Linked DNA regions of Homo sapiens: regions 1, 2, 3 and 5 are each linked to region 4. Evidence: promoter capture Hi-C in human tissues and cell types (Jung and others, 2019). All regions are on one chromosome and are shown on one strand. Each heading gives the region's core, a stretch centred on a gene start or on the middle of the fragment in contact. The rest is flanking DNA. Distances are from core to core; before and after follow the strand shown. Region 1 overlaps CD59 (CD59 molecule (CD59 blood group)). Region 2 has its middle 32 kb from the start of CAT. Region 3 overlaps CD59 (CD59 molecule (CD59 blood group)). Region 4 holds the start of NAT10 (N-acetyltransferase 10). Region 5 has its middle 26 kb from the start of ABTB2.

Evidence for each region. Contacts are between HindIII fragments. The study calls those that stand out against the background at their distance.
Region 1: a fragment that was not itself captured here is called in contact with the fragment with the promoter of NAT10 in region 4 in 1 of the 25 tissues and cell types used here (hippocampus).
Region 2: a fragment that was not itself captured here is called in contact with the fragment with the promoter of NAT10 in region 4 in 1 of the 25 tissues and cell types used here (neural progenitor cells).
Region 3: a contact is called between a fragment that was not itself captured here and the fragment with the promoter of NAT10 in region 4, in 1 of the 25 tissues and cell types used here (aorta).
Region 5: a fragment that was not itself captured here is called in contact with the fragment with the promoter of NAT10 in region 4 in 1 of the 25 tissues and cell types used here (liver).

Annotation. Positions count from the first base shown.
Region 1 is chr11:33,716,371-33,722,109 of GRCh38, forward strand. It overlaps CD59 (CD59 molecule (CD59 blood group)), which reads right to left. Exons shown (of 4, transcript NM_000611.6): 3 at 1,000-1,101. Among named protein-coding and RNA genes, the nearest start is that of CD59, 17 kb to the right of the region's middle. The HindIII fragment of the contact is 4,662 bases long and covers 1,024-5,685 here.
Region 2 is chr11:34,404,028-34,409,821 of GRCh38, forward strand. No RefSeq gene overlaps it. Among named protein-coding and RNA genes, the nearest start is that of CAT, 32 kb to the right of the region's middle. The HindIII fragment of the contact is 7,882 bases long and covers 1-5,794 here.
Region 3 is chr11:33,702,031-33,707,744 of GRCh38, forward strand. CD59 (CD59 molecule (CD59 blood group)) reads right to left here. Exons shown (of 4, transcript NM_000611.6): 4 at 980-5,714. It also overlaps a transcript of C11orf91 not described here. Among named protein-coding and RNA genes, the nearest start is that of C11orf91, 4.1 kb to the left of the region's middle. The HindIII fragment of the contact is 4,215 bases long and covers 1-3,747 here.
Region 4 is chr11:34,102,055-34,107,541 of GRCh38, forward strand. It overlaps NAT10 (N-acetyltransferase 10), which reads left to right and starts at 3,575. Exons shown (of 29, transcript NM_024662.3): 1 at 3,575-3,738. CAPRIN1 (cell cycle associated protein 1) reads left to right here. Exons shown (of 19, transcript NM_005898.5): 19 at 1-556. RefSeq lists an enhancer at 3,328-3,787. The HindIII fragment of the contact is 6,988 bases long and covers 1-5,487 here.
Region 5 is chr11:34,381,010-34,387,131 of GRCh38, forward strand. No RefSeq gene overlaps it. Among named protein-coding and RNA genes, the nearest start is that of ABTB2, 26 kb to the left of the region's middle. The HindIII fragment of the contact is 5,435 bases long and covers 1,670-6,122 here.

The sequences.
Region 1 (5,739 bases), core at 2,105-4,604, 390 kb before region 4:
CATGTTCACCATTTCTTGATGTTGACACTGGGGGGAGCTGGTGTAGAAGGTCTAAGAGTACAAATAACCTTGTGGAGTGTTTTTATTATTAATCTCTTAGAAATCTAAGCCTGAGGGTTTTACCTTGGACACTAAGAACATTCTGAAACTGCCATTCCTCGCTGGCATCATTTGCACACATCGATTCTATCCAGAACCACACCCCAGCAAGAACAGAGGGCATGTCTTTGCTGGTTTCTTTCCTCTGTCTACCACTTCCTAAACTCTATTTTAACAGGGTGATGGAGGTGAATATTCTGTAGTCTAACAAATTTGGAAAATGCAGACTGGACAGGACTTGTGCATGTTAGCATTGCCCATCCCCAAATTCATGAGCACCTTGCTCTGAGGCTACCGAGCCCTGGCACCTGCTGTTGCCCCTCCCAGGCACACCCTTCCCTTCTTAGCCCTCTTACCTCCTACGTGTCCTTTGAGCTCAGCTTGAGTCTCCTCAGGACTCTGAATATACCAGATACCCCATGGAATGAGACAGAGGCATATATAATGACATTTAGGACAGCCAAACAGGCCTTTGTCATAATTTTAATTGTATGTGTCCTTTCTTTATCTTTGCATCCCTAGCTCCTAACCCTCTGCTGGGCACACAGTAGGTTCTCCAAGGTCTGGGAGGCAGCACAGGGCTGCTGTAAAAGAGCACAAGCTTTGGAATCAGATGGACTTCCATGTTCAATTCCTGAGTCGGTTACTTAACCATAATTTCTTGCTTAATCTGAACCTCCATTTCCACATTTATCAAATGGAAATAAAAGATCACCCTTAGAAGTGCAAAACATTAAATTTAAAATGTATGAAGAAAGTGCTTAGCCCAATACACACCTGACGCTAATAAATGGTAGCTATTACTTGATGCAAGCCTAATGAGGATTACAGTGGCACAATTTTTTTCCCAGGCACTTATTACCCCATTACATTTAGGAGACAGACAGGGGAGGCTCTTACCAGCTTTGGTAATGAGACACGCATCAAAATCAGATGAACAATTGACGGCTGTTTTGCAGTCAGCAGTTGGGTTAGGACAGTTGTAGCACTGCAGGCTATGACCTAGAATCAGGAAGAAAGTCAGGATCTCTTAAAGCAGCACTGACTTGTCCCCTGGCAGCCCACCATCTCCATTAATATGGGCCCAAAGTCAGCAACTTGTGGTATACTTCCACTCCCGCACAAATGTATAGCAGTTATATCTTTCCAAATTCAAACTACAGTTCCAGCAACATTTTTTGGACCCTGATGCAAGCACAAAGGAAATATCCACATTTGAATATCCATCTAACTGTGCAATTGAGAAGCTTCCTCCTAACCTGCAACTGGAAGGAGATTAGTCTGCAATGTAATGATGTGTTAAGAAGAAATTACCGAGAAACAAACAGAATTCTATAAGTGTCTTCCAAGCAATGAATATGCCCAATTAAATCACATCCTCGTGGGTTGATGATCAATGTCTGGCAATACCTATCTGCGTGAAAATACATTTTCAAAATGAAATATGTAAAATGTCATCACAGATTAGTATTAATAGATGAACATCTGCAATTGATTTGATGCGAGGGAACACTAATTTTGAACCCCAATTAAGCAAATGGTTATCCCCCTAAAAAGAATTCTATTCCCCTCATTAGTAGATGTGTATTATTATGCTGGACTCAATAATTATGTTATGAATTTTGTCAATAAAAAAATCTGTGAAAATTTTGTTTCTTATTATTGAGGTAAGTCTCATAATACCCTTGATTTTGCCTCTTGGTCTGCAAAGCTTAAAATATTTACTATCTGGGCCAGGCGCAGTGGCTCACGCCTGTAATCCCAGCACTTAGGGAAGCCGAGGAGGGTGGATCACCTGAGGTCAGGAGTTTGACACCAGCCTGGCCAACATAGCGAAACCCCATCTCTACTAAAAATAAAAAAATTAGCCAGGCATGGTGGTGCACACCTATAATCCCAGCTACTTGGGAGGCTGAGGCAGGAGAATCGCTTGAACCCAGGAGGCAGAGGTTGCAGTGAGCCACAATTGCACCACTGCACTCCAGCTTGGGTGACAGAGCAAAACTCTGTTTAAAAAAAAAAAAAAATTGCTATCTGGTCCTGTACAGAAAAAGTTTGGTAACCTCTGGGACAGGGTATCATTACTGAACTACCCCCTTCTAAGGGACTGACCGAATGCCAGGAGTACACACTGTCAAAGACAAGACAACAGCTGTGCACTTTAAACCCATGGGCATAGGACAGCTGGGTACCAGCAGACACAACGTGAGGGTCATCTTACATCAGAAGCAAATTGCCTCCAGTTCCCTAGTTTGAAAAACAATTATTGCTCCCAGTCAATTCTTAAGACTCATCCTTGCTAGCTGTCAGTTTTTGCTGGGTTATTTTTCCTTCTCCATTTTTGTAACAACAGTGACAACAAAAAGATGAGTTACAGTCCACACGTGTGATGGGGAGAGACTGAGGAAGCAAGAGTTGGAAGGAAATCTTCCTGGTTTGTATGGATACCCCCTTTTCCATCATCAGAGATAAACTATCTTCATGCCATATGACTTCTACCATGTAATCAGTATTTGGAAGTACCTACCTCTGTGAAAAGACATTTTCAAAGATGAAACACGTAAAATCTCACAAAAGAATGTCATGGTTAAACCAAGTGTGGGTTTTAGAGCCCAACAGCTGACTTCTAGTTCTAAGGCTGAAGGCTAGGTTTATCACCATGGAAATAGATTTTTCAGTGGAAAGTCCAGTGGAAGCAAGGTGGGTCCTCACTTTCTGAGCACACACAGGAACCCAGTTCTCTAGAGCATCTGAAATGGCCATGTCTGCCCTCACAGGTGTGAAATCCTACCCAATAGAGGATCCTCTGACTTGTGAAGGTTACAGATTAATGCCTTGAAATATTAGTTTTAAAAAACAACAACAAACTAGGCCAGGTGTGGCGGCTCACACCTACAATCCCAGCACTTTGGGAGGCCGAGGTGGGTGGATCACTTGTAGCCAGGAGTTTGAGACCACCCTGGCCAACATGGTGAAACCTCGCCTCTACAAAATATACAAAGATTAGCCGGGCATGGTGGTACATGCCTGTAATCCCAGCTATTCAGGAGGCTAAGGCATGAGAATCATTTGAGCTTGGGAGGTGGAGGGTGCAGTGAGCCAAGCTTGCACCACTGCACTCCAGCCTGGGAGACAGAGCGAGACCATGTCTAAAAAATAAATAAAATAAAATAAAATAAAAACCAACCTCCTCCCCAACTTTTTTGCAGATGACAAGACAGATGTCTGGAGAGGTGATGTGACTCACACAAGGACACCTGGCTACAAAGCAGCAGAGCTGGCGGCAGCCCTGGGGCCTGTGGGCAGGGCCCCATCCACCAGGCTTTGTTTGTTCTCCCCCACTGTCAGCCTGTGGCTGTCATGCCCGTGTGAGAGGGAAGCCACAAGGAGAAGGCGCAAAGATGCAATTTTTCTTTGGTCCCTTCCTTGTGCCAGACATGTATTCACACGCATGAAATGAAAAGAGTCTAAGATGAAGGGTGTTGTTCTTGAGACTGGCCATGTTTGAGGGCCATTTTAAAAGGTTACCTGTAGACATGGATTTTTGTGGTGGCTAGATCCCGGGCTCATTTGGCCTCTTAAGAAAGCTTTAGAAGGAAAGGCTAAAACCCATGGTTGGAACGTCTGTGGGCAAAAATATTCATGGCAAACATGTTCATTCAGTGTTCAAATATATGTGCATCTATGTGCTAAGCTCTTCATAGGATTGTTAAGAGAACTAGGCTCAATTATCTTCATCCCCACCTTGCAAGAGAAAACTAAGACTAAGATGTTAACTAAATTGTTCAAAGCCACACAGCTACTAAGTGACCGAGCTGAGCTCAAACTCAGGCTGTCAGTTCTAAAATCCAAGCTTGGTTAACCATGATGTTCTTCTAATTGACCTGAGTGGGAAGAGAAGGAAACTCTAGATTATGGTGGAAACTGAGGTCAAAAACAAGCAACAGGGCCAGGTGCAATGGCTCACGCCTGTAATCCCAACACTTTGGCAGGCTGAGGTAGGTGGATCATTTGAGGTCAGGAATTCCAGACCAGCCTGGCCAACATGGTGAAAGCCCGCCTCTACTAAAAATACAAAAATTAAAAAGTAAATAAAAAAAAATACAAAAATTAGCCAGGCATAGTGGCATGCTCCTGTAATCCCAGCTACTCAGAAGACTGAGGCAGGAGAATCGCTGGAACCTGGGACACGGAGGTTGCAGTGAGCCGAGATCGCGCCACTGCGCTCCAGCCTGGGCGACAGAGTGAGACTCCATCCCCCTGAAAAAAACAAACAAAAAAAAACAAGCAATAGGTCAGTGGACAATGGTTTGATATTTTAGCCACTAAGCCAGGGTAGACGAGGTTTCCCCTGGGCCATAAGAGGCAGAGCTCAGAGGAAAGTTCCCCTGCAGGGTCCTGAGACCCTTTTGGGCAGCAGCAAAGAAGGCCTCTCATCTGTGGGCATGTGAGCTTCACATCTCAATTCTCTGAGAAAGGGCTGAAGTGCACCCCAAGACTTGTCACAGAGAAGCTGATGGTCCCAAGCTTGCTCCATAAACAAATGCAGACTGCTGGAAGTAGGATGTCACTGGGCTATTAAAATTCTAGAAAATATTCCAACTTAAGCAGCAGAGACAGAAAAAAAGAAGGAACCAAGAAAAATGAATAAATAAAAAATAATTATAGAAAAAATATAGTGTTTTAACACAGGTGAACCACATTACAGTGCACCCTGGCTAGAATCACGGAAGGTGGGGAAGAAGGGGTGCCATGACTTCTCTTTCTGCTCAGAAAGGGAGAACATATTAAAGTGTGTCCTGGCGCCAAGTTACTACTTTGCCTTCATTTCCTCAGCTGTAATATGGGAGGTAACAGTACCGACCTCCCGGAATGGCTGGACGGATTTAAATGAGACAGGCTCTGGCACAGTCCCCAGTAAACAATAAACAGTGAATATATGGTTGCTGTTAATATTCTAAGACATGCTACAGTGGTGTGGAAATCTTTTTTTAAATTGCTCACTGTATTGCCACTTTCTTTTCTGCTCCCCCCACCAACCATATTTATAAAAAACAAAAAACCAGCAGTGGCCAAGATATTATACCAACATGACACAGGCAGACAACCACACTTGATCTTTACAATGAAGCATGTGTGTTTCCACTGTTATAGAAGTTGACTCAGAAGCACACAATTTCCTCCAGCAACCAGGGGAGGGGTGGCTGAGGAGAGGGGGTGGCCCAGTGACAGATGGCCTGGAGCAGGAGGGAAGAGCAGGGACTCTGTTGCCAGACTGTGTGTTCACATTCCCGTGTACCACTTCTGTGTGTTATTTGACAAGTTATTAATTTTGGGGAGGCCTCAATCTTGTTGCTTGTAAAACAAGGATAAAAATACCACCAACTCCATCAGGTTGGCATGAGGATTAAATAAGCAAATACACGTAAAATGCTTAGAGTAGTGACTGGCACATAAATGCTTCAGGGTTAGTTAGCTGCTGCTGCTGTCACTATGACCATCATCATCATTAAAACACAGGAGGAGCCTCAGAGCAGAAGGACTGAGCTCAGATGGCTCTAAGCAGAGTGGACCCCAAAGGGACTTGCACAGCACTCTAAGAATGGTATCCATTGGTGTCCCCAAGCAGCTTATGGTGAC
Region 2 (5,794 bases), core at 2,080-4,579, 300 kb after region 4:
ATAGAACTTTTTTAAAACACCAACTGCTTTTTGTTATTGAGTTTCAGAAACCTTTCACAAGATGGTAAAAAACAAACAAACAAAAAACTTTACAACCACAGCTAATGTCATTTTTTTCCATTGTTCCTACTCAGCTCCAAACTCATTGTGTGCAAGACCTATTTTTCCCATACATCTAAATGATAGATACAGGCTATGAGATTCTTTCTTCTATTTGTAGCAGCTTATTCAGGTGCAGCCAAACACAAAGCTTCAGGATAAATTGTACAAACTTTACAATATGGGATTTGAATTTAAAATATGAGACATAAAGTCTGCACAAAACTGATAAAAATCAAGCACAGATATCAGGATCGAAACTTATAATCTACATGTGAAAGGGAGTTTTATTTCCTTTCAAGTGCTTTATTCTGCTATGGAACAGTTGAAACGAAGATGTGAAGCTTTGTGGTTAGTTTCAATTATACACGCTGTAGATACTATACCAATTTTAAAAGTTACGCAGAGACCAATGGATGTCCATCAGTTCATCTGGATTGATGGGACACTCCAGTGGGATCGCTGAGAACAAATCAGGCAAGTGTGGAAGGAAAGTCCTCCTGTGCAATTCATTTGCAGTGTTTGCGGATGGGCAGGCACACACCTCCAGGAACATGAGGGCTGCTGTTTTCTTCATCAGAGCTATGATTTAGGCTTCATGCCTCTGACCACCTCCTCAGCCTCAAGTGTTATCACATTCCTGAAGCTCTACCGCCACTTTTTCTCCAATTGTGTTTGAAACTTCTGATCTAGATGGCAGCGGATCTTCTAGTTGAGAACGTTTGTCTGGGTTGTTCCAGTTGTTTTCAGGACACTTCACATCAAACTTTATGTAAAGATCACCTTGTTCAAAGGGATTAGGATATTGTGGCATTTCTTCACCTCAAATCCCCAGAGTGTGTTTTGGAAACACTGAAGTAACAAAAAGGGCAGAGCTTTGCCCCCACTTATTTGCTAAATGCTGTTTTTACTGTGGGGCCCTATGCAAAATGACCTAACCTCTTTGAGGCAGTTTCTTAATTTTGAGATTTAGAGTAACATTCATTTTCTGGGGTTGCTGTGAGAATCAAACACAATATTGGTTATGCCATTCCTGGCACAACCGAAAGAGTAGCAATGCCTGAGTAATAGAAAGCACGTAACATTTATAATTAGGAGAATATGAGTCAGATCGGGCTTTGCATTTCTGGTCACGTGACCTTCAGCAAGCGACAAATGTGAACTTCAATTTCCTCATCCATGACATAGGACTGATATCAACATCTTCCCCACTGGATTGAGAGAAAAAGTGAAAGTAACTTCCTTTTCCCTTCTCTCCCATCTCCTCACTTCTCTCTCCCTCTACCTTCCTATTTCCCCACTTCTCTTTTCCTCCACCCCCATCTCCTTCTCTCTCCCTCCAACCCCCCATCTCTCCACTTCTCTCTCCCTCCACCGTTTCATCTCCTTACTTCTCTCTCCCTCGACCCCTCCCATCTCTCCACTTCTCTCTCCCTCCACCCTCCCATCTCCACACTTCTCTCTCTCTCCACCCCTTCCATCTCTCCACTTCTGTCTCCCTCCACCCCTGTTTCCCTCCACCCTTTCATCTCTCCACTTCTCTCTCTCTCCACCCTATCTCCTTACTTCTCTCTCCTTCCACCCTCCCATCTCCACACTTCTCTCTCCACCCCTTCCATCTCTCCACTTCTGTTTCCCTCCAACCTTCCATCTCTCCCCCTCCACCCTTCCATCTCTCCACTTCTCTTTCCCTCCAATCTTCCATCTCTCCCCCTCCACCCTCCCATCTCTCCACTTCTCTCTCTCTCCACCCTCCCATCTCTCCACTTCTCTCTCCCTCCACCATCCCATCTCCACACTTCTCTCTCTCTCCACCCCTCCCATCTCTCCACTTCTCTCTCCCTCTACCCTCCCATTTCTCCACTTCTCCCTCTTCACCCTTCCCCTCACCCCAAACACACTTTCCTGGTATTGCCTAAATTCCTTATGAGCATTCAATGCTTTCTATTGATAGTGTTTTCCTTGGGTCTTCTTTTTTTAAAAAGAAATCCTTTTGAGACAACCAGAATATTGACTACTTGATGATTTTCTCATGAATTCAACTGCTCTACCTGGTACATTTACTAAAGGACATTGAGTTCACTGGATCCCTGAAAGGAGAAGAAGGAAAAAAAAAAAGGGAAATTCAGCCTTTTTTCCTACTCCTAAATATATCTCACAATGTTGTCTTAGCCTAGCACATTTTAAAAAAATCTTTGGTACAGAAGTTCTTTTAGTAATCTGATAAGCCAACTTTAAAGGAATATTTCATGCATATGAAAGGTAAGATTTGATGAGGCTTTCTTGACATATATAAAAGAATAGAGATTAAAGCCATAATTTAATATTTGCCCTTTAAGTATGTCCATCAAATACAATTTTATGTGAAATACTTTCCACGAGTTCGGCTTTCTAGTGGACTTTGCTTTCAGAAATAGAGAAAGTTTCATGAAAAACAAATTTATGTCACCACTGTGTTCTAGTAGTTGGTAAATATACTAGACAACGTATTGCTTTTGCCAGAGTCAATAATCATTGACTCCTGCATGTGTCAGCAGACATTTACCAGTGTAAGGACTCTACATGGGAAATTAAGCTTTTTTTGGGAGTAGGTAGAAAGGAGGGCAGAGTATCAACAAACAGGGAAGGTCTGGGAGTCAGTAGACCTGGGTTCTAGTCCTCTCTTTTAATTAGTTTTGAACCCTATATACACAGATATAACCTATTCAGAGTTATTTTTAAATTGATAAATGGAGGGGATTGGGCAGTTCATTCCAGCTCAGTCAATTGGGAACAGTTGATTGATTCTTGATACGGTGATATTGCTAACAGGAGGACAACTAGATCTTAAGATCCATAGCACAGGGATCATGACTGTCTTGTTAACTGTTGAACCTCTGGTATTTGCATGCATAGATACCCAATAGAAACCTGTTGAATCTGGAACAACTGAGGGTTGGCTAGCCAGCAGAATTTCATTATTTTCAGTGCAGAGCTAGATCCTCCTATAGTTCCTAAGCTATGAATTTAAAAGTTAATAATCAGTGTACATTTGGGGGAACCACACAGGGAAAGAAATTCTACCATGACAGATTCCACTGATGGTAGGAATGAGGATTCTGATACCCCAGCCTCCTCTCTGAAGGTCAGGTCGTTTTATGACATGCCCAAAGAGCATGACTTATGCTGACAGCTTCATCAGTTCAACAGAGTTCTTTTTTCTCAATGGAACAGATGTCTATTGTGTTGATGTTGCCTGACCTAACAATAACTGACTTCTCCAGTGGATCTTGGTTGTTTTTCTTCCCAGTTACCCTTGGAATTTATCACCATCAACTCCCCCATGTGCCAGTGGTAGTTTTCTGTGGATCCCAAAAGAAGATCAAGGCCCTGGAAAAATTAAGGAAAATCAGGGATTGTGTTGGTGCATCCTGTTCTTAGGTTGAAAAAGTGCAACTGTAACTCCACCCCCCACAGCAATCCAGCTTAACTGGATATTCCAGAACAAGGCTGCCCACTGGGCTGGACACATCCCAAGAAGGGTGGGGAGAGTTACAAAAACCAGGTCCGCCCTTAGCCCAATCCAGCCAGCAAATAGCAGAGGGACTTGTTTTTCCTAAATTCAGTTATTAAAATAGAAGAACTTCTCTCAGCATTTAATGATATTGTTTTGTCCAAAATTACTTTTCTTGTTTAGAGCTCAACATATTCATGTCAAATATCTTTATGGTTGGACACATATTTGTAACTCTTTACATTCCTAGCTAATGGAAAGTTGGGAGTCATCATTGTAATTTTCCCAGGATGCTTTAAGATGCTTCATCATAAACACATCCTATGTTTGAATGATGGTTGGCAATGTTGAGATTGACAGCTTCAATATGCACTTTAATTTCTCAATAACATAAGTCATAGTTAGATACATTGTAGTTTTTTCCTCCTTTATTTTTCTGATACCTGCCTTCAGAAGTGAAGTTCAACAGTAGGGGAGCACTTGCCTTCCATTAATATTTAGATGGACCATACTGACATCTCATTAACTAACTTACAAAGTGTCACATGTTATCTGTGACAGCATGGATGAACCTGGAGGACATTATGTTAAGTGAAATAAGCCAGGCACAGATTCTCACTTATATGTAGAATCTAAAAATGTTGAACTCATAGAAGCAGAAAGTAGAATGGTGATTGCTAGGGGCTGCAGGTGAAGAGTGCTGGGGAGATATTGGTCAAAGGACACAAAATTTCAGTTCATCAGGAAGAAAAGTTCAATAAATCTATTGTACGATATGGAGACTATAGTTAATGTATTCTTGAGTATTGCTAAAAGAGTAGATTTTAAATGTTCTCACAACAAAAAAATGATAAGTATGTGAGGCCACACACAGGTTAATTAGTCGATTTAGCCATCCCACAATGTCCACGTATTTCAAAACACATCATCTTTTACCCAATAAATATATACAATTATTTGTGTCAATTAAAAAAAAAGACTCACAGAGTACAGATTAGAATGGAGGAGGATGGAGATTAAATCTGGAGGAGCAAGCAGAAAATGTCCAGTTGTCAAGTGAAGTAAGCTAAGCGATGACCTGGAGACACACTGTAATTGATCCAACTCACAGTGGAAGCTGGAAAGGATCAAAGGTCCTGGCAGGGAGCAACAGAGGCTGGGAGAAAGAAGGGGCTTTAACCTAAGGAGAGGTGCAGCAGTGTATGCAGGAGATAGGGGTTTACATAAGAGCCACTGGAGAAACATCGTCCATTATTGGATCCCTGAATGTTCCCTGAATGTTCTCTGTGGGCTCTGTTTGTTTCTTTCTTACTTTCTGTTTCTTCTTTAGGGTTCTCTAACAGGTCTGCTGACTTGGCAAAAATGTCTGGTAGCCCTAGCTAGCTCCTTCCACTTATATTTAAACTTGAAATATTCATTCTCATGAAAATGATGATATAAGCAATAGATTTCCAGATCTACCCATAAAATTCCCTTTTCATTCAAATGTGACTGGAGTCTTAACAAGATATTAACATTTCAAAGCCAGCCTCAAGCATAAAAAGTGATGTTACCTAAGAAGTCAAAGGAGAAAAGAGTGACAGCCTGTCTGGAGTTAGGCAATCCCTGGCCCCACAACATGGATGGAAATAATTAAGGAGAAGATGAAAATAATTTGAGGCTGGGCATGGTGGCTCATGCCTGTAATCCCAACACTTTGGAAGGTCAAGGTGGGAGAATCTTTTGAGGCCAGGAGTTTGAGACCAGCTAGGCAACGTGGCTAAACTGTAGTGTCTTTACAAAATATACAAAAATTAGCTGGGTGTTGTGACATGTGCTGGGGAAGCTGAGGTGGGAGAATCACTTGAGCCTGGGAGGTCAAGTGATCCTCCCAGTGAACTGTGATTGTGCCACTGCACTCCAGCATGGGTGACAGAGTAAGACTCTATCTCCAAAACAAACAAACAAACAAACAAACAAACAAAAATACATTTGAGGGATAAAGGCGGTGCCATACTATTGAGGTTCACAGAGTGGAAGGAAGAAAGATCCATGCTATGGTGCTAGTAAGAGAAGTTGTTGGAGCACAAATCTCTGTTGAGCTCAAGGAGGCAGCAGTTAGGAGTGGTCATTGCGGGGATTAGAGATTTCAGAGTATTTTTATAAATGGCACTACCCTCAGATGGGGGAAAAGCAATGGCACAACACCCACCCAACTTGACA
Region 3 (5,714 bases), core at 390-2,889, 400 kb before region 4:
GCTTCCCACACTTAGTTGTCACACGCAGTATTTGCTCTCTGACTTTGGCAGCCACCCATCATTGTTTATTCATACAAGTGATCACTAGGCTGAGGCTCTCAAGAAAATGTATTTCCCCTCAGTCTATGGCTAATACAGGCCATGTGCGATAGCTCAGCACCCAGCCTGTAATCCCAGCACTCTGGGAGTCTGAGGTGGGATCTCTTGAGGCCAAGAGTTTGAGAACAGCCAGGGGCAACATAGCGAGATTCTGTCTCTATAAAATAATTTAAAAAATTAACCAGGTGTGGTGGCATTTGCCTGGAGCCACTCAGGAGCTGAAGTGGGAGGATTTCTTGAACCAAGGAGGCTGAGGTTGAGGCTGCAGTGAGCCACAATCATAGCACTGCACTCCAGCCTGGGTGACAAGGCAGGACCCTGTCTCAAAATAAATAAAATAAAATAAAATAAAAAATACCCTTATCTTCCATTAGTTTCCCCCACATATTTAACTTCCCATAATTTACTGCCCAAGAAGCTCAAACCTCTTTTCCTTTGTCTTATCACTTTTCTACAATCGCCCATTGTTAAAATTGTATATAAGCTCTCAAGCCACTTCTTTGGGTTTTCACTTTGTTTCTGTAAGAACCCCATGTACCTGCGTAATAAACTTTGTCTTCTGTTAATCTGTCTTTGTCAGTTTAATTCTCAGGCCCCAGGCTCTGAACCTAAGAGATTAGAAGAAAAATTTTTTCACCCCTACAGAACCACAGTAATGGTAAGAACCAGGGTTTTGGACTCAAGACTTGGGACCAAACCCTGGATCCACTATGTATTTGGCTGTGCGGCTGAACCTTTCTCAACCTCATTTTTTCATCAATATAATGGGAATAGTAATGGCATCTACTTGCTTAGGTTGGCAAGACTAAGTGAGACAGTTTAAGTACCTGGCAATGGCTTGTGTTCAACATTAGCTCTTGTTATTACATATTAAAGGCCCTTAGAAGGAAAAGAGATTTTGCGTTATATTTTTTAAATGAAGCAATACAATCATTTTTTATGTATATATCTAGTTGAGGAGAAAAAATTACAGATTTTTTCCCCCTTACTCCAAGATAATCTAAACAGATTTTACTCTGGATGGCTTAATTATAACATAATCCATGAAGTTATAGCCAGGGGGTTAAATAAGAAGTTGATGACAAACTTGGTTTCTCTAACAAGTATGCAAGAAAACTCAAGTGCCACAATGAACACCCATAAACTGCTGTCAGGAGGCAAAGTCCCTATGAGGTAATAATAAACCCACGAGGTTAAGGCAAAACCCTACGGTTGTTTCTGCAAACAAATGTCCAGGAAACTCAAGTTTGTGATGAAAGAACAGTCTTGAATTCAACTTCAGCAGAACCTTTCCCTCCCTGGGCTCCAAAGCACTATGTCACCTACCTCTCCACTCAAATGCCCCATTAAGTACCATCCTGTTGGAGCTTCCTAACGCCCCTGCTCCCTGGTTTCATTTGGAACCAACTGAGAGACACAAGTCCCTCTTCGTTGATCAGGGTCAGTTGAAAGATGTAGCTGTCGGCCTGGTAGCCAGGTGGGCTTGCTAATCCTGCACCTCTACCTTAAGCTTACCCAGCGTGAGGCCAGGTTAGAAAGTCACAGGCCTTGGCAGCAGGCAGAGAGCCTTTACTGTCATAGTGAAGAGCTTGCCAAGGACAGGACTGATTCTTCCTCCAGCCTCACCTATCGGGGCAGTCATTGTTCCGCTGTCAGGAGGAGAGGGGCCAGAAGGGTCACACTGAAGAAATGTGACATGAGGGTGGAGGTTCCTGTCCAGCATTCTTCACTCTCTATTTAACCGAGGCTGACTCATTGCAGTTGGCACTAATTTTCCATTGCCACAGCCCTCTCCAGCCAGGAGGGCCTGGAGTACCTGAGGTGCTGTTTGCCGGGTTCCCTTGGTCCTCAGACTGCTCCCTTCAGAGAAAGCACAGAAAGCCTTCTCTGTCCCAAGGAGCCCCCCTTCCCCTCCCCCACTCCAGCTCTGCATCTGGACACACTGTCAGCCATCAGATCCTGACCAGGTGCTCAGCCTCTTTAGGGATATGTCACAATTTGCCGTGCCCGGTGGCTCTGGGCAGCCTTTGGACATGTAGTGGTTGTGTCTTGGAATACAAGAGTTGTGCCTGAATCTGGGACTCTCTGTGACCCTGGGAAAATCACATCAGCTCTCTGAACCCCAATTGTCTCTGATCTATAAAATGAAGACAGTATCTACTTCATAGGATTGATTTGATGGACATATGTATAAGCAGTGCCAGGGACAACTAGTAGGTGGTCATTGGAGTGTGGCTACAGTTATTATACAGTTACACATGGATTCCTTGATTCCCCATTAAGCCCTGGTGGATGAATGAGGAAAATGCAGCAGGGGGTCCATCCTAGAAAACCCAACCCACTCCAGATAATCGCGCCAGCCTCACACCTGAGAAGCTGCTTCTACGACCTGCTGAGGACATAATGATAAACACACACAAGAGGCTACTGTGTCCCAGGCACTTGTCTTAACTCATTTAACTTTTCTAACAACCCTAAACCTAGGGTTCTCATTTTCCAGATGAGAAAACTGAGGCATGTAAGGTTAAGTAACTTGCCTGAGGGTCGCCGATTAGCATCAGAGCCGGCATTTCAAATAGACAGGCCAGCTCTAGAGGCCAGGGTGTTTGGACAGCCTCCAAATTGTCACCCTAGCCTTCAGGGCAAGGCTGCACACACGGCCTCTAGTCTCCTACCCCTCTTCCTGGCAGGAGGCTGGCTCTGACAGGAGGTTGTTTGTGCCACAATTTAAGGACCAAGCTATTCTGGGAAGCCCAGAACAGTCTTTCCTTTATTATTCATCTCAATTAACCATTGTGTTGGTCTGGACTTGGGGGTGCAGGCATTCCCATCTCCCTTTCAAAAAAGTTTCTAAAAAATGCAGAGCAGCCTTTATTCTTGTTTTCCCAGGTAAATGTGGTCCTATGTACTTGCAGAGTAAGAATTTAAAAAAATAAACCTGAGAGGTAGTTTAGTGGAATAGGGAGTACAGAGGCCTGGAAGATGAGGGAGCTGGGTTTAAGCCCCATCAACCGGCATCAACTAGCCATGCTACCTTGGGCAAAATAACCGTAGCTAACACTTAGTGACCACTTACTGTTGTGCGTTCTCATGTTATCCTGACAGTAACACTTATAGGGTAGGTCTGTCAGAATTTTCTGTCCACAAGCAACAGAAGCTTACACTGAGAATTTATTGGAGGGCTTTGAGACAGCTCATGTAATGGAAAGCTCTTAAGAACTAGGTTTAGAAGGTGCAGAGACCAGGGCAACTTCAGGGATCCAGGTAGCAGGAAGGAATCGGTAGCCTCTTTGGTATGGCCACTATGGTGGTAGACACTGTCTACCTTGTTTGCTGAGTCTTCTGGCTTTCTTCCACTCTTCCTGCTCTTGGACATCAGACTCCAGGTTCTTCAGCCTTTGGAATCTAGGACTTGCACCAGTGGGTTGGTTGCCAGGGGCTCTTGGGCCTTTGGCCACAGACTGAAGGCTGGCTGCACTGTCAGCTTCCCCAGTTTTGAGGTTTTTGAACTCAGGCTGAGCCACTACTGGCTTCTCTCTAACCCAGCTTGCAGACGGCCTATTGTGCGACTTCGCCTTCTAACTGTGGGAGCCAGTTCTCCCTAATAACCTCCCTTTCATATATACATATATCCTACTAATTCTGTCCCTCTGGAGAACCCTAATACATGAATTATAACTCTAAGTTTCAGTTCTGGCCATAGCATTATGTCACACCAACACCAGCATCAATATTTTAGGTTGCCTAATTAATGTATCTGTAAACCTATAGCCAGCTTGGGTGGGGCTATTGAGAGTCAGCACCAGCACTGATCATATATAGGATCAGCCTACTGGGGTTGGCCACGTTGTATGTAGCTGCGAATAGCAAGGAGGGGAACAGCAACATCCCTAGGGAAACCGATCACAGAAAGGCAGCTCACTACCCCACAGTAAAAAGAACCTTGAGTTTCCCAGTTCAGTCCCCTGCTGGGTGCATGCTACCCCCCTCCTCTCCCAGAGGCTCTGGACCTACACAGCTGCTGAAAAAGAGAAAATGTCCTTACCTACAATGAACCATCACAGGCACCCACCTAGAAATTAAGGTACTGTGGTCATTTATCTTATCCCAGAATAACAGGAGTGTGTATAAACAGGAAGCTTTAGTTTAGATAAATAAGATTATCCATTACAAAAATTTTATATTGAATAACCTGTAAGTAATTTGAAAAAGAGACTTCTGGCTAGTTTTCACTTATGTCCAAGTCAGTGGGGGTAAATGCATTGTGATTCACTGTAGGTTTTAGACTCTTACAGCCTTAACAACCTTGTAAATCCATAACTAGCATCTTCCTATCTGGCAGACCCTTTACAAATGCATTATCTCAAGCCTCACAACAATTCTTTGAGGTAGACATAGAAAGTGAAAGTTCAGAAAGGGTTTAAAAAAAAAAAAAAAAAAAAACTTGTCCAGAGACATAGCCAATTAGTGGAAGAGGGTTTGAACCCAGGTTCCTAACTACAAAATCCACGGGTTTAACTGCTGCTCTCCTGAAATGAAATATCTACAAGAAGTAGCAGGCATTGAGAAACAGATGGGAAGATAGTGTTTTGATATGATTTTCTGTTTACAGGAAGGCCTAACTACGTCCTGTTCACCTCATGCTATTGGGTAACTTTCCAGTAAAAAACAATTGCACTTTGTTTTCTTTTCCAAAAAGAGGCAGAAACTGATTTCTTCAAAGTAAAAAGGCACCAGGGACCCATTCTAGACTTTCCAAAGCTAGGCACATATTAAAGAGAGTATACAAAATAGGCAGAGAAGTAGACTTGCTGACCTGAGGAGCTGAGTGGGAAGCATGGACTTGCCAACTTACCTAAGTGACCTTGAGCGATCCAGCTAACTTTGCATAGTTTCCTCTTGTGTAAAGTGAGGTGCAAGTACAGATGAAAATGTATATAAAACATAGAGCTTAGAATCCTGTACCAGAAAGCTGCCCTCATCACAATGAATGTCAGTCAGTACTAGCTCCAGCCAGCTGCTCAGCCCATCAAGAATCCCTCAGGGGGATCTGTTAGCATTAGTTCAGATCTGTTGGCAGCAACAGAAACTAATGCGAGCTAGTAGACTTTGAACACTGCTAAAGAACTTACCAAGAGAACTCAGATGTATAAAAGTGGTTAATTCTGTCAAGAGGCCCAAAGTCTTGGGCAGGCTCTTATTTTTTCAGGACACACATAAGACATGGGGGCTAACTGCAAGGACACAAGAAAAATATACCCATACCTTGAAGCCCCCAGTACATTCAAGACCAAGTTTGGCAAATAGATTAGCATCTTTCAGGAAATACCATGAGCTCCACTTATCTACTCATCAGGTGTTCCTTGCACCCCTAGCTCATCCCCCCAAGGGGACAATCCAATGGGCTTATCACCACCCAATACTGAACACTATGACAGTTCCTGTAAATCCAGATGAGTGGAGGGCACAGGGTATTGGCTCTCGAGCAGAGAGCCAGTAGGCATGACTGGTGTTCGATTCCTAACTCCCCTGCTCCCTGGTTTCATTTGGAACCAACTGAGACAGACACATGAATCCCTCTTCGTTGATCAGGGTCAGTTGGAGGATGTAGCTGT
Region 4 (5,487 bases), core at 2,325-4,824:
ATTGTACCTTGATATTAAAACAAATATCCTTTAAGTATTTCTAATCAGTTAGCTTCTACAGTTCTTTTGTCTCCTTTTATATGCAGCTCTTACGTGGGAGACTTTTCCACTTAAAGGAGACATAGAATGTGTGCTTATTCTCAGAAGGTTCATTAACTGAGGTGATGAGTTAACAACTAGTTGAGCAGTCAGCTTCCTAAGTGTTTTAGGACATTTGTTCATTATATTTTCCGTCATATAACTAGAGGAAGTGGAATGCAGATAAGTGCCGAATTCAAACCCTTCATTTTATGTTTAAGCTCCTGAATCTGCATTCCACTTGGGTTGTTTTTAAGCATTCTAAATTTTAGTTGATTATAAGTTAGATTTCACAGAATCAGTATTGCCCTTGATCTTGTCCTTTTTATGGAGTTAACGGGGAGGAAGACCCCTCAGGAAAACGAAAGTAAATTGTTAAGGCTCATCTTCATACCTTTTTCCATTTTGAATCCTACAAAAATACTGCAAAAGACTAGTGAATGTTTAAAATTACACTAGATTAAATAATATGAAAGTCTGGTTTTCTCACTGTCCTTGAACGCAGTCTGCTTAAGTTGTTAAAAACCATCCAGCAAAAGCTGTAGGTGAAGAAGTGCTACTGGTGTGAAGAGAGGAAAAGGTTTATAAAAGCAATCTGATAGCCTCATCTAATACACTTCTCAGCTTCTGCTACTAATATCCTACTTTTAACAAGCTGTTCTGAAGCTTAATCCAGTTACATAAGCAGTACGGCTGTTTTGAGTAGAGGCAGTGGAAGATCAGCAGTTTGTTCCTGATCATCTAGCAAAGGCATTTGTGTATTAATGCTTATTTGGAAATACCAATTTTAAGTACTGTGTTTAATAGGGAGACACACTGTATTAAGCAACTAAACTAAGGCTTTATTCAGCAAATTAGGGTATCCTTTGCCCAGCATCATGCCAAGCACTAGGCATTTAGTGGTGACAAAAATTACTGTGGTTTCTGCTTTCATTGAACTGTCTAATCAAAGACTGATGACACCAAAGTGTAGCAGATGCCATGATGGAGCAATGTGGTTGATGGCAGATATTAAAGCCATGACTGAGTGTATACCCTAGTTAAAATGATCAGGGGAGACTTAACTGAAAGGGGTAATTGAGCTAGATTTGAAGGATGAGGAGTAGCAGACTAGTCAAAGAAAGGGAGAGAAGAACATACCTAAACATCTGATCACCAGTGACTGAGAAAGTTATCAGGATCAAGTGGAAAGAGAAAGGACTAGCAGAGTTACAGGTTAGAGAAACAGGTAAAGGCTACTATGGACGGCATAATAGTTGCATCCCATGTTTTGTCTCTTAAGAACAGTTGCAAACTATTGAAGGTTTTAAAGCTGTGTGTTGGGCCGGGTGTGGTGGCTTGTGCCTGTAATCCCAGCACTTTGGGAGGCCGAGGCGGGTGGATCACGAGGTCAGGAGTTTGAGACCAGCCTGGCCAATATGGTGAAATCCCGTCTCTATTAAAAATAAAAAAGTAGCCAGGCGTTGTGGCATGCGCCTGTAGTCTCAGCTATTTGAGAGGCTGAGGCAGAAGAATCGCTTGAACCCGGGAAGTGAAGGTTGCAGTGAGCAGAGATCGCGCCACTGCATTCCAGCCTGGGCGACAGAGCGAGACTTCGTCTCACAAAAAAAAAAAAAAAAAAAAAAAAAAAAAAAAAAAAAAAAAGGCTGTATTGTTTGGGGTGGGGTTGGTGGCTCACTTAATAAAGTTACCATTTAAAGAACATTCAATGCAATGAACAACATATATGGACCAAGAGATGGTAAGGAGGCTTGTTGGAGTGGCCCATGTGAGAAATGGATTCCAACTTAAGGTGCGGATGGGGTGGTGGTAGTGAATGGATTCTATGGATTCCCTATCTCACTGGTCACTACTCAGTATCCTTTGCTGATTTCTCCAGGTCTTGGATGTCAGACTTCATCTCTAGCTGTGTTCTTCCCTGGGTGATCTGATCCAATCCCATGATTTTGAATATGATCAGCATTTTAGTCCTGAATATTTCTAGGCCCCAAACCTCTCAAAACTCATATTCAACATCTTGATATGAATTTCTCAATATTCCAAGTCAACTCCTTGATTACCCAACACCAGTTGTTCATTCATCCAGTTGCTCAGAGCAAATGTTTTGGGTGCCATCTTCAATGTACTTTTATAACCTGCATCTAATCCTTAAGTGAGTCCACGTGGTTCTAACTTGAATATCCAGAGTTATCTTATACTTCTAACTACTACCACAACTACCATCCTAGCACAGGTGACTACAATAGCTTATAATTGTTCTCCTTTTTCTACTTTTGCCTTCCTGTGATTTAGTTTTTGCATAACAGGAAGCCTTTTAAGAGGGCAAAGCAGATTTTCTCATTTCCCTGTCCCCCACAAACTCCAGTGGTTTCTCATCATGACTAGAATTAAATTCTAAATCTGGTCCTTCACTTGCCCACTGCTTTGGCCACACTGACTGCTTTGCCAGGACTCCCCCATCTTGGAGCTTTTGTATGTACATCTTTGGCACGGGGAAGTTTTTCACTCATATTCTCAGGGCTCATTCTTTCTAAATTTCAGGTCCTTGTTCCATCCAGTGTCACCCCGTCAGAGGCCTTCAGTGTTCGTTTCTAAAATAGTATCCTTAGTCACTTTACTCACTGGATACTTCTGCTTAATAGCATTTAAAACTTAACCTAGAATTAACCACGAGGGGCAGGAACATTTTGGACACTATCCCTTGTGAGCAGAATAGTGCGTGGGCATATTCACATTTTGCTGAATGAACTAAAAAATTTCATGATGGATGTTGGATTAAATGGGTAGTGCTGCTGATGACATTAAAAGTGTATCTGGGGAAGGGGTTTGGATTCAGACATTTGCGGTATCCAGGAGGAAACATCAAGCAGTTGATAATGTTTTTTGAAGTTCAGCGATCTGCCCCAAAGTCAAGAATGCAACACTATGTATAGGTTGTCCCTGTAGTCATGTTCTTGGAGTTCACTGGAAGCCCAGGGGGAGTAATTTCATTTGACGACCATATACAGGCCTAATGGGAGCCTGCAAAGTACAGCGGCCGCAGTCATGGGTAGATTACAGGATTCCCATCTGTAAGATCAGTACTGTGGGGGTGGAGGGCCAAGCGAAACCAATAAAATAGGTCTGTTGGCCGAGTTTCCTCAACTTAACGGGGATCGGTTAAATTGAACACAAATCGTTGGATCCGTCGCGTTTCGCGTAACCAGGCTGACGCTGAAAACCCTGGACCTACGTGGGCAGGCCCTGGGGTGCGGACATCTATTTTGCCCTTCTTAGCCGAGGTACTTTAGCTGGGATATGAAGAGTGAAGAGGCAAACCGCAGCCAACACCCAGCTACCGCGAGCAGTGGGACTAAAATGCGCAACCGCAGTGGACATCTAGGCCTCAGCTCCGCTTCTGGTGGCTTACGTCATTACTCAGCGACAGCCTTGAGGAAGGTCCCTTCTCGCTCGCCATCTCTGCGACTTTAATGCGCTTGCGCACGTGCTGTCTACCAGTTCCTGAGAGGGACGCGTGCCGCGGAGCCAGGCTTACTACGTGACCCGGACACCAGGCATACGCTAGGGGCAGTCAGCTGTGCCTTCTCTTTCGGAGTTGTTCCGTGCTCCCACGTGCTTCCCCTTCTCCACTGGCTGGGATCCCCCGGGCTCGGGGCGCAGGTACCCAACGCGGGAGGGCCGGGTATGGATGCCAAGATCGGTGTCTGTGTTCTTCCTGGGTCGAGAGGGGACCGGCCTCAGGATGAAGGCTCTGCATCCGGACGGATACCTGGCCTACGCCGTTTGTCCTCCACCCCTCTTTTGGGGCGCTCCAAGATAACAGAATCACCTCTCCAATACGCAGCCGCTCTCGGCGCGTGCTTCTCGAGCGTCCTCGGGGATTTGCGTGGCTCGATAACCACCTCTAAGTAGTGCCTGTAACTGGGGAGTCGGGGTGAATGGGTGGGTGACAACAGTTGTTTTCCGTGGAGCTTGCCCGCAGTGCCTGGCTGCAGGTCTGGGCATTATACTTAGGGTAATCTGATTCCAGATCCTTCCACGTTCTTAAATCCTTCACTGTGCACATTCCTTTATACTCTTTATTCAGCAGTCACATTCAGGACTTGGTTTTGTTTGCCAGTGCACCTAAAATGGTGCCTGCCACATAGATGTTATGTGTAGATAGACGAATGAGTGAGCGAAAAATAATCATCTCCTTCAAGGCCTTCCCCATCCAGGCCTTCCATGACAGCTTCAGCCCATAGTAATCTCAGCCCTTCCTTCATCTGACCGGTCCCTCAGTATAGCTATTTTTTTTTTTTTTACATCTAATTTTACCTGTGTTCTTGTTCCTCATCTCATTCTCTTAAATACCTTCTTCAAGAAGAATGCAAGCTTGAAGTCAAGGGCCTTGTGGTACTACTTCTGGGGCTCCCACAGTAGCTAGAGCAAAAGGCAGCCCCCATTAATTAGTTGTTGATTGATTTTTGCGGGATCTTTATGTGGCCGGCAACACAAGGTTTACAAGTTGGGAAGATTGGCGAACTGGGAAGAGCTCAGGCTTTGGAGTCAGGAAGACTTGAGTGTGAATTCTGTCTGTCGTTTTTCTGCCTCGGGATATTTGAATTCTTTATACTTTCTCCTTTACGTATAAATTGGGGTCCTTGACAGTGACTTAGTGTTTTATAGTAAGACATATGCTAAAATCTGTTTGGATTGGAAGGTTAGAAGGGACAGTTAAGGTATGGTAAGTTTCAGTAAATGAGCTTTATGTTTATAATGCAGTAGGTACCAGAGTTTCTAAGTAGCATGTCACTTTTACATCTAAGTAGCATGTTACTTTTACAGTGATATTTCTGATGGTTTTTTTGATGTATTTATTGGGATGATGCAGTATTTTACTGTAGGTAATCACAGAACTTTTTTTTTTTTTTTTTTGAGACGGAGTCTCACTCTGTCGCCTAGGCTGGAGTGCAATGGCACACCATCTCGGCTCACTGCAACTTCCGCCTACCGGATTCAAGTGATTCTCTTGCCTCAGCCTCTCCTGCAGCTCCACTACCACTCCCGGCTAAGTTTTGTATTTTTAGTAGAGACGGGGTTTCGCCATACTCTTGAATTCCTGACCTCAGGTGATCCACCCGCCTCGGCCTCCCAAAGTGCTGGGCTTACAGGCATGAACCACCACTCCCGGCGAGAACTTTTGAGGTCTGTCTGTACAAAGGCTTCAATATCGTTTTCCCTAAAATGAGGAAACAGTTGGACACATTACATCATGGAATTATTCATTGATGGTTATTGATTTCCCTGACTTTATTAGTAACACGTGAATTTTTTAAGATTCCACAAAAACAAAAGAACAAAATAAAAGTCCCACCATCCAGAAGTAGCTACTTTATACTTTGGTATTTCCTTCCAGTCTTTTTTATT
Region 5 (6,122 bases), core at 3,137-5,636, 280 kb after region 4:
GAAAGGTCAGGGGCCAAGGGCTGAGGGTAAATAATACATAGAAATCACAGATTTGTGTGTTGTGGGTGCTATATCAAAGACACCATCAAGTTTGGGGATCTTAGTAAGGATTGTAGGAAAACTGTAAATGAAACAGAAATAATAGTATTTTCAAGAGGGGTAAGGAAATGAATGGATACTTGGATGCATTTTTTTTTTCTGGAGATCAATTGAAGCACACTCATCAAAGCCTTAAAAATACGCATGATTTTTGACCTAGCAATTTTATTTCTGAGAATTTATCCTATGGAAATATTATGGACATGCACTAGAAATTAGCTCTAAAGATGTTCATCACAGTGCTATCTGTAATAACAAAAACAAACAAACAAACAAAAAACAACCAAACAAAAACAGAAATAATGCCAATATTCAACAGCAGAAAATTGGCAAGGTAAAGTATGAAATACTCATTTAACAGAATACTTTGTGATAACTAAAAAGACACTGTAGAAATATATTTCTAGATGTGGAAGATGTCCATAATATATTGTCAAATTTTAAAAAGATGTGTTACAGAACACTATTGCAAAAATAAAAATACATAGATGGGTGAAATATGATATGTTAGTAGTGGTTTTCCCTTGAGGAAAGGGATTGTGGATTTTTTTTTCTTGAAAAAGTTTATTTTGCTTCCCTGTCCTTTCTGAGTTCTTTGTAGTGAAACTATGTTGTTCTTATATAAGAAAAAGAAGAAAAGGAAGACTTTACCAAAAACATATAAATATGAAAGCATAATACTAATGGGATCACAGGAGAAAGGCCTTATTTTTTGCAGCCAGCTCTTATATAGTACCTACTATGCACCATGCATATTTATTTACATTTATTAACTTGTTTTTCTCATCACAACCCTATGATCTTTTCCACTGATGAGGCAACCAAAGCACAGTGATGGTCAGTAACTTGATAAGGTCATAGAGCTAGTAGAGCCAGGATTTGGAGCCCAAGAATCTAGCTAGTTCTAGACTCTGTGCTCTTAACAACCACTGTACTATGAGGAAAGAAATCTAGGTATGTGCCTTCTGTCATCACATCTCCATGATGTCCATTTTTCATGCCTGCTTGATTCCGGATAGGCTGAAAAGGAGTAGTGGGCCAGTTTTGATGGCACATATTAGATGCAATCTGCTATGCCCTTCAGGAGCTGGCTTTGAGGCTGATCCTAGACATAATGCAGTGGGTGAAATGTATTTTAGTGTTTCCTGCCCTGCCTACTTGCTAAATGTAATGCCTTCACCTGCTTATTGAAACTAATAAGGTTCACTGATGGTGTCTGGAATTTTCCTGGCATATTTTTACTATGTTGAAGCCTAGTTATCTTATTCTCTTAACACTTGGCTTTGTACTAGGCAAATACTAGCAAATCTTCAGAAATAAATTAATGCTAAAATGATAATGGGCACCAGTGTGTTGCTACATCATCCTTCCAGGAAACATGTATATGTAAATAGATGCCTTCTAAAAGTTATTTTTAATGCCAAAGAATTCATTTTCATGGTAGATATTTTGGACGTTGCAGGGAGAATATTTTAGGCATTAAAGCTTAGCTGGCTTCACTAATAGCTGTTTCCAGTTTTCTTATCTCTTGCCAACTTCCCTATAAAGGCTGAGAAAACTAAATATTCACTTTCCCAGCCTCCTTGCAGCTAGGGGTGGCACAGTTCTAGACCATGAGATGTGGGCAGTGGTCTGTTGGTGGTTTGTGGAGAAAGCTTTTGCTTTTCTGATAAAAGCAAAATGTTGACACTTGTACCTTGCAATGCCTCCTCCTACCTGCCTCTGGTGCCTTAATCTTTATACTTGGTGATGTCTTGGTCATTTGTGATTGGGAGGAAGAGAACAGAAGAACTGCAGAGATGCTGGACCTGAAATTATGGGGTCACTGAATCAACGCCAGCAGTTGCCTATATCACTTTTTTAATAGGTAGAAAAATAATCCCTATGTGTTAAACCACAGTTAGCCAGATTGTCTTTCACTTTCAGCCAAAGCATTCCTAATTGATGTGCACATTTTCATTTTGCATTTTGCATTTCAAAATGAACTATGTGCGCATAGTTCATTTTCCTGGCTCTAGTTTTACCCAGAACATTGAAGTACGGTTCCAACACTACAGGAAGGCAAACAAAATCAAAGACCCACCCAATTGTGGGTACCTGTTCATAGCATTTCTGAGCATGTTATACGTCCTTTACTTAATTTCTGGTGACTTTAAAAAGAAAGACAATAAGACTAAAAAATGGAGACCATTGTCTAAGATTCATCATAGGTTAAGAAATGCAATATATAGCATTAAAAATGCTATATTAGTCTGGGTGCGGTGGCTCACGCCTGTAATCCCAACACTTTGGGAGGCCGAGGCGGTGGATCACGAGGTCAGGAGATCGAGACCATCCTGGTTAACATGGTGAAACCCTGTTTCTACTAAAAATACAAAAAATTAGCCGGGCGTGGTGGCGGGCGCCTGTAGTCCCAGCTACTCGGGAGGCTGAGGCAGGAGAATGGCGTGAACCCAGGAGGCAGAGGTTGCAGTGAGCCGAGATAGCGCCACCGCAGTCCGGCCTGGGTGAAAGAGCGAGACTCCGTCTAAAAAAAAAAAAAAATTGCTGTATTATTTTACTGACTTGACAAAAACATTTGATGACAACCATTTATTCAGACTTTTGGTTACTATTTTTCAGTTGATAAATCCATCAGATTCTTACTAGTACATAATGCAGGAGCTAGTTGGTCGGGTTTATTTTCTTTCCTTTCTATTCACTTTCTTTTTAATTTTTCCTCTTTTAGTTCCTTCCTTCCCTCCCTTCTTCCTCCCTCCTTGCTTGCTTCCTTCCTTCCCTTCTCTCCTTCCTTTTCCTTCTTTCCTTTCTACCTTCTCTTCTCCCTTTTCTTTTTTATACTATAATCTCTTACAGTAAAAAATGTATAGTGTAATAATAACGCAGCAAGCATCTCAGTCAAGATCCATGTGCTGGGCATCTTTTATTTGTCCCCTAGATCTAGCCACCATCTGACATTGATCTGGGAGACTGACCTGTGTGGATCTGTGAGCAATTTTCCCCTCTGACTTCCTCTTGGGCCTGGCTGATGGGGAGACACAGCAGGAGATTGTAGGGAGGAAAAGAGAGTGGTGTTAAGGCTTATATTCCCTTGGCTCCTAATGTGATATTACCTCTGGCTGACTGGGTTTCTCCACTAAAGGTCACTGCTCCTCTTAACATGGCAGAATCTACTTAATTTTCTCTCCTTCTAGGAATCACATCTTTTCCTTGTCCCTTCAGGTCTAGGGATGGTCACATTAATGGTTGGCTACCATTAGCCTTAGGTTGCAAAACCATCTCTTGTGTCTCCCCTATACCTGTACCTTTGTGATTAGCTGTCTCATAAATGAATCCTCCTTAAATGACTCTATTTTTCTTTTGTTTCTTTTTTCTTCTCTGAAACCTTTTAAAGACCACTACTCTATTTTGAGTGAGCCCTCTGTTTCCCTTTGGAAACTTGATCGATACAAACTAGATGCTGCATTGTCCAAAACAGCAGCCATTGGGCTATTTATATTTAAATTTTAAATAACTAAAATGAAATAATATTAATTTTTTTTTCTTGAGACGGAGTCTTGCTCTGTCGCCCAGGCTGGAGTGCAATGGTACGATCTCAGCTTACTGCAGCCTCTGCCTCCTGGGTTCAAGCGATTCTCCTGCCTCAGCCTCCCAAGTAGCTGGGATTACAGGTGCCTGCCACCATGCCCAGCTAATTTTTGTATTTTTAGTAGAGATGGGGTTTCACCATGTTGGCCAGGCTGATCTTGAACTCCTGACCTCAGGTGATCCACCCACCTCAGCCTCCCAAAGTGCTGGGATTACAGGCCTGAGCCACCACGCCTGGCCGAAATAATATTAAAATTTATCTCCTCAGTCACACTAGCCACATTTCCAGTTCTCAGTAGCCACATATGACAAGAAGCTGTAGTGTTGGACATCTCAGATCTAGAGCAGTTTCTTCATTACAGGAAGTCCTGCTGAATAGCACCAATGGAAATTGACAGTCCCCAGACCTCCCTTTGTATGACTTTTTATGTGATTTCTCCATCCTGCTACTTCTTCCTGTCTGCATCACTTTTTTTTCTCTCTTACATTTATAGTAATCACATCCTTGCTTTTCTTTATAATTTTTCCACCTTTGTAAGCATCCTAAACAATGCATTTTAAGTTTGCCCATTTTCAATTTTAGTATGTAATTTTGCAGTGTTTTTGTTGTCTTGTTTCTTGACTGTTTTTAACATCCACTCATGTGGTATGTAGCTGTTGTTTATTTGCATTGCTATATAGCATTCCATTGCATGAAAATATCACACAAAAGTTGCATTCTCCTGTTGCTGGATGTTTGGATTATTTCCAGTTTTCAGTTATTACAAACCATGTACATGTCTCTATGTATATTCTTGTATACACAGACATACCTACATTCCTATATGTTATGTATCTGGAGTGAAATTAAATTGCTAGGTCACAGGATATGCATTGCTTCCCCATTAAAAAATAATGCCATCTTTTTCCAAAGTGTTTGAACCCATTTACACTCCTATCAACAGTACATGAGGATACCCATTTTTTTTTTTTTTGGAGACGGAGTCTCGCTCTGTCGCCCAGGCTGGAGTGCAGTGGTGTGATCTAGGCTCACTGCAAGCTCCGCCTCCCTGGTTCATGCCATCATGCCATTCTCCTGCTTCAGCCTCCTGAGTAGCTGGGACTACAGGCGCCCACCACCACGCCCGGCTAATTTTTGTATTTTTAGTAGAGACGGGGTTTCACCGTGTTAGCCACGATGGTCTCGATCTCCTGACCTCGTAATCTGCCCGCCTCGGCCTCCCAAAGTACTGGGATTACAGGCGTGAGCCACCGTGCCTGGCCGAGGATACCCATTGTTTTACACCCTCACCAACACTTGGTATTTCAGATGGTTTACATTTTTTTTAAATTTAATATCCAAATTTATTTTTACCGTTTTTTTTTATTGTGCTTTAAGTTCTAGGGTACATATGCACAACGTGCAGGTTTGTTACATATGTATACATGTGCCATGTTGGTGTGCTGCACCCACTAACTCACCATTTACATTAGGTATATCTCCTAATGCTATCCCTCCCCCCTCCCCCCACCCCACGACAGGCGCCAGTGTGTGATGTTCCCCACCCTGTGGGGAACGTGTGTCCAAGTGTTCTCATTGTTCAATTCCCACCTATGAGTGAGAACATGCGGTGTTTGATTTTCTGTCCTTGTGATAGTTTGCTCAGACTAATGGTTTCCAGCTTCATCCATGTCCCTACAAAGGACATGAACTCATCCTTTTTTATGGCTACATAGTATTCTATGGTGTGTATGTGCCACATTTTTTAAATCCAGTCTATCACTGATGGACATTTGGGTTGGTTCCAAGTCTTTGCTATTGTGAATAGTGCCGCAATAAACATCAGATGGTTTACATTTTAACCATTCTGATGAGTGTGTAGCGGTGTCTCACTGTGATTTTTAAATTGCATTTTCCTTCTTACCAATGAGGTCAGCATCTTTTCAAGTCCAATTTTATTTCTTCTTACATATATAATTGAGTGTCTCAGCATTAGTATTAAAAATACTTGTCATTTTCCTCATACACTGTATTGCCACTCTGTCTAAATCAAGGTCCACATAAGTGTGAGTCTCTTTTTAGTTTCTCTTTTATGTTAGCTCTTGGTTTGTCTATCACTGTATCAATTCTACATTGTTTTAACTACTGTAGCTTTGATATCTATATATCTTGATATCTCTTAGAGCAAATCCTCTGACATTTTTCTACTTATTCAAGATTGTCTTGGATACTTTTGGCCCTTTACATTATCATATATGTTTTAAAACCAGCTTGTCAAGTTTTAAAACAAAACAAAATCCCAAACCCTGTTGAATCTTTCAGTCAATGAATATGGTATGAATTTCCATTTAATCATGTGTCCTTTAATATACTTCAACATAGTTATAAAATTTATAATTACATTTCATAATAATTTTTTAAAAACCTAATTTATAATTAAATTTTATTAAAATTA